2 separate regions of the Homo sapiens genome follow, and region 2 is linked to region 1. Evidence: promoter capture Hi-C in human tissues and cell types (Jung and others, 2019). All regions are on one chromosome and are shown on one strand. Each heading gives the region's core, a stretch centred on a gene start or on the middle of the fragment in contact. The rest is flanking DNA. Distances are from core to core; before and after follow the strand shown.

Region 1 (6,549 bases), core at 1,549-4,048:
GGTTCCTCTCCTCCTGTTTGATCTTGAACCCTTTCCAGCCAGACTTTGGTCCTCATCATGCAACAAACTGCCCACGCCCAGGTCATCTGCGACCTCCATGTGGTTAAATCCAAAGGTGAATCCTCATTTCTCCTCTGGTCTGACTTGTCAGCAGCAGTGGGCACAGTCAGCCACTCCCCTCCTTCAAGCTCTGCCTTCACTGGTGGCTGGAGCACCCCCTCACTCTTGGTTCTTCTCTGCCCACCCTGGCCACTCTTGCTCAAACAGGAGGAGAGGAACTGCTTTGGATGGTTCCCCTTGATAGCATCCAGAGCACCCTCCTTCTTCCTCTCACTGTACCCCTCCCCAGGTGATCTCATCCAGGCTCCAGGCTTTAAATACCATTTCCGAGCCAATGGCTCCCCAACTCCCATCTTTAGCTCACTCTCCCCTCACAGCCAGCCTCCTTCCAGCTGCAGCTGCCTGACATCCCCACTGGGCTGTCAACGAGCTTCTCAAAACTCACCTGTCTACACAAATGCTGCTTCTACCTCTCCCCAAGCCTGCTAAAGGGCAGCCTCATTCTTCCAGCAGCTTAGGCTGAGAGACTTGCCGTTAGTCTTAACTTCTCTTCTTGTTCTCACACCCCATATCCAAGCATCAGCAAACCTGAAAGCTCAATCTTCAAAATATATCGAGAACCCAAACATTTCTCACCCTCACGGCCGCCATCACCCCGGGCCAAGCCACCACCGGCTCTACATGGAAACCTACAAGCCTGTCCTGAATGCTCAGCTCGGCCACTGCCCATGCTCAGCATAGCAGCCAAAGGATCTCTATAAACCAGAAGTTGGGCCCTATTGCACTTGAAATTAAATCTGATGGCCCCTCCACAGCCTTCTCGGCCTTTCCTGATCATCCTTCACTCCCAAGCTTGCCTCTTCACCGCATCACCTAACACTCTCCCTGGGCTCACTCCACTCCAGCATACCAGCCTCGGGACCCTGGCTCCTGCTGTCCTGTCCTCCCAGTACACACTTTTCCAAGATTTCTTTTTCATGGCTCTCTCCCTCATGGAGCTTGTCCGGGATCTGTCCAGGCGCCACTCCATCAGAAAGATGCCTCTTTACCACACCATAGAAAACAGCATGCATGCCTCCTACCACTCTGTTGCCCCCACTGTTTTGTTTTCCTTCATAGCATGTATCATCCCTGACATGTCGTAGATTTGCCCACTGGGCCTGTGCCCTCATTAAAGCTCTACGAGAGGGACTTGTTTGTCTCCTAGAACTAGGGCCAGTACCCGGTACAGAGAAGGCTCTCGATAAACACCTTCTGGCTGAATTCAAGCTTGAGTGCATGTGGCAATGACATGTGGGAGGAGATCGGGCTGGAAAGAGGAGCTGGGGTGCGACTGGGAAGGGCCGGCCTTGCTGCTGGGCTAAGGCGTTTGGACTCACCCTGCAGGCAAGATCCTTGGGTGTGCTGGTGCCCTCAGCAAGAAATGAGCCTGACTCATGTGGCCTTACCACCGCCAGCGCCCCCACATCTGTTAACAAGCCACGTCCAGGCTGTGCAGCGGGGCAGGGAGGGAAGCCACCCACCCCATCCCAAGCACCCAGCACCAAAGTCACACCCCATCCATCTGCACATGGCTGAGGGGCATATACTACTGACGTTGCTCATGCCTGCCAATCTGAAACCTCCAATTCACAGAAAAGGAAACTGAGGCTTGGTGAGAGGAGGTGACGTAAGTGGCAGTAGGGAAACCTCTTCTGCCCATGAAGATACAACTGTAACCACACTTGATCATGAAAGACCAAGCAGCCTCCGACATCAGGGTTTACAAAAGGAATCATACCTTTCTAGACCTGAAGTCACGGGGAATTCCTGATTACAACTGGAAGATCAACAGTTGGCTGGGTAACACGTTCATTTATGTCATAAATTGGCATCTTAGCCTAAGACTTTGTGTAGGGAGAGCAAGGGTGAAGTGTATGAAAATATTTGAAGTAAATCACTTTACAGCGTTTTAAAGGCGGAAAGAAGTAAAAGCACGTGCCTCCCAGCCTTGCCAGGATCCACCTTGGGCTGGGTCCTCCAGGTCTCGATCAGGGCCGACCCATTCTGCATCCTCCGCCTGGACCCCTCCAAGGCTTTTGCTGTAACTTGCGCTCTCCTGAGCTGCCTCGCAAGCAGCAACGACCTCTCCCTGGTCTCTCATCAAACTCATCCTCCCAGAAACCGGGTTCCTGCCCTGTACTGTGTTCCCATGGCAACCTGAGCTTACTACCCGCTGCTGGCATCACCCCCTCTCCGCTGCAGCCCCCTGCAGGGCGAGCTTGTCTGATTCGCCTCTGTCCCCAGTGCCCAGCACCGGGCCTGGGACTCAGGGAGCTCTGAAAGGATGGGGAACTAGATTTTCGGGCTCAAAAGAGAAGAACCCAAGGCGGTAGGAAAGGAGAGCAGAGTCCCCACTGCGCCCGCCTGCACTGAACCAGTCAGTCCCAGGGCTCCCGCTGTCCTTGGCTAGTTCTCTACCCTCCAGAGGGCCTCGGTTTCCTCATCTGTAAATCGGGGTCGCCACCTCTCCTGCAGGGCGGTGCAGGGGCCCAGCCCGGATAAGCCACCGAGGGCGCTGGGGAGACCTGCACCAGGTCCCTGGCCTAGGAGGCGGCGGCCTCCCCCCGCCTCTCCGCCCGGGCGCCCCGGACTGCGAGCTGTGCGGTGTGGGGCGCGGGGGTCTGGCTCACCTGGAGGTGACGAGCACCGCCGGGGACTGCATGACGGCGGCGGGGACTCCGGGCGGGGCGCGCAGTCACGGGACCCGGCAGTGCCCGCGTCACCGCGTCCCCGCCCTGCCTCCCGCTGCCCTGGCCTGCCCCCTGGTGGCAGCGGCCGCGCAGTTCGCGCCTGTGGCCAGAGGCGGGGCGGAAGCGCGGCTGGGCGGGTCCCGCACGGTCGCCGTCGGCCTGCGCTGCTCGGAGCTTCCGGAGCACCCAGGCTGAGCCGCGCCCGCCGCAACCACCTAGAAGAAGCCCAGCCTGGCCCTGGCACACGGTGAACCTTAATCGGTGTGTCTGTTTTGCGCTAAAGTTTAGCCGTTAGAGAGACGGGACTCTGCTGTTTCCGCCGCCAGTCCCCATTACAAAACCACTCCCCCTCTGCCCCAAGACCATTTCATTCAACCGATCGGTCAACAAATATTTACCAAGCTGGGGCTCTGTCCAGGCTTCGTGGGGTCTTCTTCAAGCTGCACAGTGAACGCCACGCAGCAGCCCAGTCCCCTTGAGCTTGCTGCCTCCAGCTAGCTCGCCTATCTGGTTCCTACTGCCTGCCCGCTCCATAAATGGCAGGCACTCTCCCGACAGGGGATCTTTAGAGAGGCAGCCTCTGCTGCTTGGCAGAGCCCTGGTGGAGGCCTCCCGGGGCCGGGCCTGCCTGGGATGGCTGCACTTGGGTCCCCAGCTGGAGCAGGGCAACGGGGTCCAGGAGCCAGTTCCCCTCAGAAGGGGAACGTACAGACATGCAGACCCTAACAGACCCACTCATTTTAGATTCACCTCTCCATGGGGTGAGGAACAGAGAGATCGTATCACCTGCCAACGTAGCCCAGGGAAAGAAAAGCTGAGTCTGCAAACAGGGCCAGCAGAAGGTGCAAACTGCTGCCCCTGTTCTGTTACTCCCTCCACCCAGAGCCCCAGTGACAAAAAGAAAGAGAAGCTGGGCTTAACTATACCAGAATTCACGGCAGGGCGATGTCAGCCATGTTTCCTGAGCCTATCAACCACCGCCACCAGCATCACCAACAATATCTACCAGTTTTTACAGATTTTAGTGAAGAAATCCTACAGTAAAAGATTTTGAAAAATGACTTTCCCCAATGTATCTCTTGAATAAATACGGACATTGATATGCCTTATTATTTGTCTCAGATTTGTTTATAGGCAAGATGAGCAATCATGAATGAAGTATGACAATGAATGAAAGTTCTGAGGGAGACCCTTGAAGGCTGCAGTGAAGAGCTGGGATGATGGCGGGAACCCCTGTCTGCTCTGCTGCTCATCGGCCTGTCCGTCTGCAGGGCCGTGTTCATGGCTGCAAATGGTCCTCCGTGTTTTGTTTAAATTGGCATGCCCTACTTTAGAGAAAGGGAGTTCAGGGTCTGGACAGAAAGCAGTATAGGCTTCAGCATTCCAGGAGTCTGAGTGTAGTGCCAGGCAGTCGAGCAGTCACCATTGCACTCACATTTATCCAACAGACAGAAACACAGTGAATAAGACACTTTAGATGCCTTCAGTGGACTTCTTTGCCCTCCTACATGGGGAGTGGGTGGGGGTCTGGAAAGGCTTTCTAAAGGAGCTGAAGTCCAAGGGAAAACCTGAAGAAATATGGATAGAATAGATTAGAAGGAATGTCACGTGCAAAGCCCTAGCGACAGGATAGGAACACCAGGGAACAGGGGGAAGAGGCCAGCAGGAGCCAGGGTGTGGACAGCCTAGTGCACCAAGGCCAGGGCTTTGCCTGATCCTGAGGCCAACACAGCGCCATCAGAGGGTCAGGGACATAGGAGTGGCTGGGCCAGCTAGGGCGTGGGCAGGGTTTTGGAGCATGTTGAAGGTATGAAGATGAGCTGGACTGCAGAACAATCCAGACAAGAGACAATGGTCCCATGAACTAGGGTGATGGCCACCCAGGTGGAGAAGAGGGGACGGGTAAGAGGGCCTTAGGAGAAGGAGTTGGTCAAGACTTGGGAATCCAATGGGTGTGGGCGGGAAGAGATAAGATACCACTATGGTTTGGCTCTTGTGAGTGGCTGGACATTGGTATCATTCTCTGTGGCAGGGCACCTGGAGAAGGAGCATATTTTTGGTAGGATGATGGGTTCTGTTTCAGACAGGCAGTGTTTGAAGGGCTGGACCTATTGATGCGATTGGGTTTATGGCCCTGGGCCTCAGGAAGCCGACCTGGGCTGGAGACTGACATAGGAGTCATGGGTAAAAAGGAGGCTGTTGAGCCTGAGAGTTGGGGTGAGCCCACCAAGGATGGTCTACAATCCAGAGATATGCAGCGGTGTTGGGGGGCTGCAGAGAAGGGGACTCTCCATCATTGTGGGAGCTGGTAGCATGTCTGTCACCAATGCCTTGTAAGCAAATGAGAGGGCCTCACCTGTGCCCCTGGGGTTGTGAAGTGTGCACCTCAGGAAGACTCGGCCCACCTGTCAAGAATGCAACTGGTTTCCCATGAAAGAACGACCCCATTCCCAACAGCAATCCCATTTTCTGCCTCTGTGGGTCCCACGTGCCCCTCTATGGCTCCAGCGCGTAATTGTATACAATGCATGGAATGTGGGATCTAAATCTGATATTTTCTGCTTCCTGTTTAATTCAAGGAGCCCCTTCCATGGCTGAAGCTGCGGTAACACAAACCACATTGCAAAGGATTTTCTATTTCTCTCTTTCTCACTGCCCTGGGAGGAACACTCCAGGCCTCAGTTTCCACCCAGGAAGTCACTGGGCCTCAGGACACTGTGGTCACTGAGAGACACCCGCAGCCTGCAGGGGGTGCTCTGAACTCTGGCTGAGCCATGCACCAACGTTTCCCATGGTGGCTCGGGTCTTCTGGGACCTTATAATTTGTCTCTGTTCCCTAATGTGATACTTTAGAGCTCCAGGGTCTGGGCACATCCACATGGAGCAGGGCCACCACCTTGCTTGTCACTCAGCAAACACTCATAGGTACAGCTCCAGGCCTGTTATCTCCCCAGGCCTGGGGGCTACAGAGCCTTATCCTGTGGGGCTCACAGCCCACTGCAGGGGCTCACAGGCCACTCTAGGACAGCTGGAGATTTCAACAAGGATGCACGCCTAGGGTGCTATGGTGCACAGAGGAGGGCACATAACTAACTCAGCCTAGGGTTGGGCATACAAAGAATTCTGCCAGGAGGAGGTGATGGCAGACCTGGGTTGTAAAAAGTAGGTATTATTTTTTTGAGACTTGATTTTCTCACTGGTGAAATGCACGTAACAGAAACCTTTAAATCATAACATTGCTTGAATTACATGAGGTAAAATGAGACTGAAACAAGATGAAATGTATGGCAGGCATTGGTGATGAGCTAACCGGAAGCCATTCACAACCCCCTTCTTCCTGGTTTTTATTACCATAGAGGCTGGAGAAGTAAAACACATGTCCCATTTCAGTTACAAGGGGCCATGTGACATAACTGACCACATATACTTAAGTCCCTGTGGAGGATTTATCTTGCTAGGAGAAAACTCTTCGCTCCTTCCTTGTCTTCTACCTGGGAAGGGGATACAGTGTTGGAGACACAGCAGCCATCATGGGAGCAGGAGGCACAGACATGAGTTTGGAGTCTACCATGTTAGGGATGAACAAGCCTGGGGAGCTGATGGCATATGAGCTTGCATACACGCCCTGGACTTTTTCTACAAAGTTCTCCTTGCATAAATGCCTAAATCACTCTAAGTGGGGGTTTTCTGCAGTGGATTTCCTGTTGGTGTAGTTGTAAAGTACTTACATAATGCCTGACATAAAAACTGCTCCATA
Region 2 (6,549 bases), core at 2,062-4,561, 130 kb before region 1:
GGACTGGGAGTCAAATTGGAAGCCCCTCCCGCTTCTGACTTCATCCCTCTGGTTTCCTGTTGAGCCCTCTGGAATGCATGTTTCCCTGCAGTGACGCATAGTCAGGGAAGGCAGGCGCTGGGGCCGTGCCCTGACTGAGTGTGAGGTAAGGGCTCTGTATTAGTCAGTTTTCACACTACTGATAAAGCCCAAGACTGGGTAATTTATAAACAAAAAGAGGTTTAATGGACTCACAGGTGTACGTGGCTGGGGAGGTCTCACAATCATGGCAGAAGGCGAAAGGCATGTCTTACATGGCGGCAGACAAGAGAAGAGAATGAGAGCCAAGTGAAAGGGGAAACTCCTTATAAAACCATCAGATCTTGAGAGACTTATTCACTACCATGAGAACAGTACGGGGGAAACTGCATGTTTTCAGCTCTCTCTCACCGGGTGCCTTCCACAACACGTAGGGACTATGGAAGCTACAATTCAAGATGAGATTTGGGTGGGGACACAGCCAAACCATAGCAGACTCCTTTCTGCTGTTCCCCTCCCTGGTCATGTGACTCACATGCCCTGCAGTGAATCCTAACAGCAGCATGAGAGCACAGCAGCCAGAATCCCCCCGGGTTGGACACCCTGTGATGGCAAGGTTAAGGGGTCACCCGACAGTCAGAGAGGAAAAGAGCAGGTGAGTGTCTCAGATGCGCACACACCCAGCCACCTGTTGGGAGTGGACATGAGCAGGGTTGGGCGGGAGAGGTAGTGTGTGAAGGTGTCCCCAAGTATCCTCTGCCTGGAGCCAGGCAAGAAAGGTAAGAAGTCACGTGTCTTCCAAGAGTGGCACCAGATGGAGGCCTTTCCTGTTTGAAATTGACTGGGTTTTAGGCGGCTCTGGAGCTTCTTCTTTGCTCAGCTGATGGCAAAGCTCTTGGAAGCTTGATGGTGGGACAAAGCTTAGAAGCAGTTAGAAGTGCTAACCAGGCACGGGGGGTTCAGAGGTGGCGGGCACACTGGGAAGTGCCACGGAGAGGCTTTGAAACTGGGCAGGCTAGTCAGTGCATGGACTGATTCAGCCCAGCAAGTATTGATTAAGCACCTGCCATCTACCTGGCACTGTGGGTTTACAGTGTGGGAGCAGGGCAGAGGGAAGTGCCAGCACATCCCTGCAGAGGGATGAAGAGGTGGCAGTGGTGAGGTTAGATAGCTCGAGCCCAGTGCAGATGAAGATGGTGAGAGCAGAGTCTGTGCACCCTCAGCCCATAGCAGCGAGAATCCTGCTGGTTGTGTACAAAGAGGCCAATACACCCGTAGGCCACAGGAACCTAACTCTAACTTATTAGAGTGGGAGCAGGCCCTTCTCCTACTCAGTTTCAAGGATGGTCCTTCCTGGAGCCAGAGGACTGTCGGAAATGACTGTGTGGGTCCTTCCAACCTGGGGAGTCTGTGATTCTAAAAACAGGCAAACAACCTCAATCTCCCTGGATCTCTGCCTTCCCACCCCCAGCCCCCTCTTCCTTAGACAAAGGGCTCTTGGAGGGATCTGAGGCTCATTTCATAGAAAGCTGAAAATAATATGAAGTAGAGTTTCTATTTTAGAGGGTAACACTTACATAAGGTGGGATCTTTCAAAATGTTCAATCTGATACCTATTTAGGGAAACATCAAACAGCCCCACAAACACAGCTCGGGGGAGGAGGCCACTCTGTTCTCCTCCGCATCCCCAGCTGGCTGAAGTGGTCTGTGGAGCTGCGGGGCATCTTAGATGTGCCTCCTGGCATGAGCAGGTGCCATGGGCTGGCTTCCTCAGCCAGGCAAGCCTGTCATCCTGCTCACTGCCTGTCCCCTGCATGGGTCAGAATCAGGGTGCTTGCTGGAGACCCCAGAAGGGCTGGGCACCCCCAGAGATACTGCAGGTGCCCCATGGAGGAAGAAAGCCTCCAGGTCGTGTGAACCTGGGACCTCAATCCAGGTCTTTTGGCACTCAGACCTCAAGCACTTTTGTTTGTGCCACATGGTTCTTGAGAGTTAATAAATAAAGGGCGGGGGAGCGGGAAGGAATGTCCTAAAGGCTTACTTGGTTAAATCTTTACCTACTTCCATTACCAGGCTCAACTTTGAAATTTCAGAAGGAAAGGAAGAGATGAAAAGAAAAATGTCACATTTCAAATCCTTCCCACAGTGACTCATTTCAGAAGTGGGGTTTCGTCCTTTTTAAAAACAGAATCAATACCGTCTTTCATGAAAACAGCTTTTGTTTCCCCTTCAGCTGCAAGCCTGACCGATCCTTCTTGGCTCAGTGCAGAGCCAGAGAAGGAGGCCAATGAGCAGCTCTCATTGCGGGCCTGGCAGGAACACCAGGGCAGGGCAGGGCGGGAGGGTGGGGAGTGCTGTTTGGAGGGAAAGAAGCTAGAGAGACCCTCTGCCTTCTTCAGGAAAGGCCTTCACTGTTAACACCCCCATTCCCACCAGCTTCTAGGCCCTCACCCCACCCAGTAAAGCCAAACATCAAGCAGGGGACTGTGGACGCCACTCATTTTCCTAGAGCATCCTGGTCAGTGGATTTTAGAATGGTCCCAGCACCCCAGAAACATTTGGGTCTCTCCTCCTCACCCCCATATGGGGGTCAATCAGTGGACAGCCTAGGCACCTGCTTATGGGGTACTTTATTTAAATGCCTTAATAATTGTTACTTTTTGTTCTTTTGTTTTTTGGATGGAGAGACTCAAACATCTGTGCTCTGCATGCCACCCCTTTAACAGTTTAATACACTTATACTTTAAGTATGTGTACATTTGGAGCACTTACCTTGGACTTGGACAATTAAACACACTTAGGTTCATTTATTATGTATTTCTTTATTTTTATTTTTTTGAGACGAAGTCTCACTCTGTCACCCAGGCTGGAGTGCAGTGGTGTAATCTAGGCTCACTGCAACCTCCGCCTCCTAGGTTCAAGCGGTCCTCCTGCCTCAGTCTCTGGAGTAGCTGGGACTACAGGCATGCCCCATGACGCCCAGCTAATTTTTTTTTTTTTGCATTTTTAGTAGAGGCAGGGTTTCACCATGTTGGCTAGGCTGGTCTCGAACTGCTGACCTCAGGCGATCCACCCACCTCGGCCTCCCAAAGTGTTGGGATTACAGGCGTAAGCCACCGTGCCTGGCCTATTTATTTCCCTGATTACCTCTAATAATTTTACAGAAGTCGAGATACAAAGCTCCAAAGGGACACTCCATTCTAGGCCTCCATCCATGAGCATCCTCTACTACATTATTGAAGAGCTAAAGTTTGAGTTGAGTGTTTGAAGATGAAAAAAAGTTTTTTAGACAGACAAGGATGTGAGTGTTGTGGGGATGGGAACAGCTTGTGCAAAGGTGCATTAGAACCAACAAGCATGGCCTACTCAGAATTCAGCAATTGATTCAAGCTTGCAGCGGGGACAGGGAGCACGTGGAGTGGCAGGGTTCTGTTGGAGTGGCAAAGGGTGGATTGTGCTGGGGCTTGTAAGCTACACTGAGAAGACCAGGCTATCCTGGGAAGAATGGGAGTTTTTGAAATGATTTAAGAGTGAAATGAACTTCTGAGATCAACATTTTACAAGGAATCTTAGGTCTTCTGCCTTGGAGCACCATTAACAATGGTCCCCTTTCTCCAAAGACTAAAATGTTTCTCAGATCATAAGGGGGACAATGAGTATCCAATGGCAAACGATGCTGCTATGATTTGAGTAATGGTCTCTCCTCCAAAATTGATATTGGCACTTAATCCCTGATGCAACAGTATTAAGGTTTGTGGCCTCTAGGAGGTAATTAAATCATGAGGGCTGTGCCTTCATGAATGGCATTAACACCCTTGTAAAAGGACTTGAGGTTGAAGGGAGTCTCTTCCACCATCTTCCTTCCATGTGAGGACACAGCAACTAGGCACCATCTTGAAAACAGAGAGCTTCCTCACCTCTCTGTTGGTGCCTTGATCTTGGACTTCCCAGCCTCCACAACTATAAGAAATAAATTTCTGTTCTTTACACATTACTCAGCCTAAGGTGTTTTGTTAAAGCAGTAAAAACAGACTAAGACAGATGCCTTATCCTCACTGATCCCCATGGCAGGAGAACCCCTATCCTGGCCTGTGCCCATGGAAGAGCCTGGTGTGATGGGCCAATTAAGCAACTGCCACAGAGAGGGAGCCCTGCCTGAACCCCCTTTGTTGACTGCTGCAGCCAAGTATACCATCTCAGTAAAGAGGGGCTCAAGAATGGTCTCAGATGTGGGCAGGCCCAGGGAGAAGGAGCTGTCCCCATTCTTGAACCATTGTCAGGTTGGCCATTGAGTTGGGCTGAGTTTGGACTTGGCCAGGATGGAAAGTGAGGAAGAGGAGAATGGACAAAGAAAAGTGGCCCTGGATATTAGATGGTGGGGCCTGGGGGTTGACAATTCCTGTCTCCTGGGGTAGCGCAGTGCTGGCCACAAACAGGGCATCTGGTGAAAGTTTGCTGATTGACAGATAGGGCGGGCTCCTGCTCCCTCCACCTAAGCCTTGTGTCTCTGAGAACCCCCTGGAGGAGAGGACACAGCTCTGCACCTCCTGTGGCTGGAGGGCTTTGTACCTGGAAGTCACCTTGGCAGGAAGCCTTTCTGCCTCCCTCCTCATCCCGCTTCCTGCTATGATGCCCACTCATTCAGCTTTGCTTTTTTCCCATTTCCTGCTGCCAGGACTGTTCCATGTTTCACTAGAAGGGAAACATTATTGTCCTTTCCACTTCTTACCCCTTCCACCAATTTTCTTTTTAGGTAATAAATTTGTTCCTTAATGAGCTTCCTCAGGATCCAGCCAGGCCCCAGTCAAGGCCTGTCTCTGCCTTGGCACCTCAGGCACAGTCCTGGAGAAGCCAGGACCAGACCCCTCCCCAGGGATCAGCAGCAGCCTCCACCGGGACTCGGAATGTATTAGGCCATTATCCCACCAAAGATGGAAGCCCAAGCCCATGTCCTCTCTTCCCCAGGGTTCAGAACAAGCCCAGCAACACTGTAAGTAGCAACTGCACTAGCAACAATGCCCTCTGGTTAAAGCCATGCAGATAGCACAGGAAATCGGAATGGCAGGGGCTTTCAAGATCAAAGTCAGTTGGATCTTTTTTAGGGGAAGGGCGGATCGGGTTTTGAAAGGATTCAGAGATGGAGGAATTAATCCTGCCGTTATTTTGCAGACACCAGTTCTTTCACGGTGGGCCAGTGGCACCGTATAATCCAAGATGAGGCTGCTGCCCTGAATGCAGAGAAAGCCTCGTTTCCTTGCGTTAAACCCCACATGGGATGCTGTCCCTCTCCCACAGGGATGGGGCAGGCTTGGTGGGATAGCACTTGGAAAGAGCGCATCTCATGCCCGCCACGTGGCAAATGGTCAGTGACCCCCTAACAGTGATGCTGTGACCAGTAGCTTCCTACCCAAGGGGAGGCCAGAGCCTGATGTCCCCTCTTGCCCGTGGAACAACTCGAGGCCAAGTTCTGATCCTGATATCACTGTTTGGGGACAAAAGTCAACTATTCACTCCACTGGAAGATGTGGTTCACTCCACAGTCTCTGGGATACGTCAGACCAGCATAAGATGCCGTTGAGGAACAAGCCAACATAGCAAGGCTGCAACTACCACAGAGATAGCAAGGAGACAGGTCATATGGGAAGAGGATGGCCTTGGTGGGAGGTAGATCTGAGTTCCAACTCTGGCTCTGCCACTTAAAGCTGTGCCACCTTGTGCAAATCTCTTCACTTCTCTGAGTCAATTTGTCATCATCATTGTCATTGTCATCATTGTCATCGATACCATTCACTGAGTGTGCACTGTATGCCAAGCAGCCATCTCTCATTTGATTCTCATAGCAACTGTATGAATAGATATCATTACTCCTATTTTAAGCACAAAGAAAGGAGGTTCAGGGAGATTATTAAACTTGCCCAAGACCAACAAGTAAGTAGTTAAGACAGGTTTTCAGCCTGACTCTCGCTGATTCCAAAGCCTATGTATGTGGTGGGTTGCATGGTGGTCCCCAAAAAGATATGTCCCTTTCCTAAGCCCCAGAACCTGTGAATACGATCTTATTTAGAAAAACGATCTTTAGGCCTGACACAGTGGCTCAGACCTATAATCCCAGCACTTTGGGAGGCCGAAGTGAGCAGACTGCTTGAGCTCAGGAGTTCAAGACCAGCCTGGCCAACATGCTGAGACCCCATCTCTAAATAGCCTGGAGTGGTGGCATACACCTGTGGCCCCAGCTTCTCAAGAGGCTGAGGTGAGAGGATCTCTTGAGCCTGGGAGATGGAGGTTGCAGTGGGCCGAGATTGCACCACTGGACTCTAGCCTGGGCAACAGAGCGAGACCCTGTCTCAAATAAAAAAGAAAAAGAGTCTTTGCAGATGTAATTAAGTCATGGATCTTGAGATGACGTCATCTAGGAATATCCAGATGGGCCCTAAATCTAAAGACAAGTGTCCTTAGACAGAAGAAAAAAAAGACACAGAGAAGAGACGGTTATGTGAAGACAGAGGTAAGATTAGAGGTCTGCAGTCATGA

The links. The method cuts DNA at HindIII sites, captures the fragments that hold promoters and counts their contacts. A contact is called where the count stands out against the background at its distance.
Region 2: a contact is called between a fragment that was not itself captured here and the fragment with the promoter of HS1BP3 in region 1, in 1 of the 25 tissues and cell types used here (hippocampus).

What each region holds. Positions count from the first base shown.
Region 1 is chr2:20,648,300-20,654,848 of GRCh38, forward strand. HS1BP3 (HCLS1 binding protein 3) reads right to left here and starts at 2,799. Exons shown (of 7, transcript NM_022460.4): 1 at 2,733-2,799. The coding sequence starts at 2,764. LOC105373466 (a long non-coding RNA gene) reads left to right here and starts at 2,983. Exons shown (of 2, transcript XR_001739320.2): 1 at 2,983-3,053; 2 at 3,676-3,901. RefSeq lists enhancers at 2,146-2,225, 2,246-2,395, 2,480-3,217 and a silencer at 2,476-3,065. The HindIII fragment of the contact is 7,709 bases long and covers 1,121-6,549 here.
Region 2 is chr2:20,514,964-20,521,512 of GRCh38, forward strand. No RefSeq gene overlaps it. Among named protein-coding and RNA genes, the nearest start is that of RHOB, 71 kb to the left of the region's middle. RefSeq lists silencers at 2,280-2,329, 2,360-2,409, 2,420-2,519. The HindIII fragment of the contact is 6,182 bases long and covers 221-6,402 here.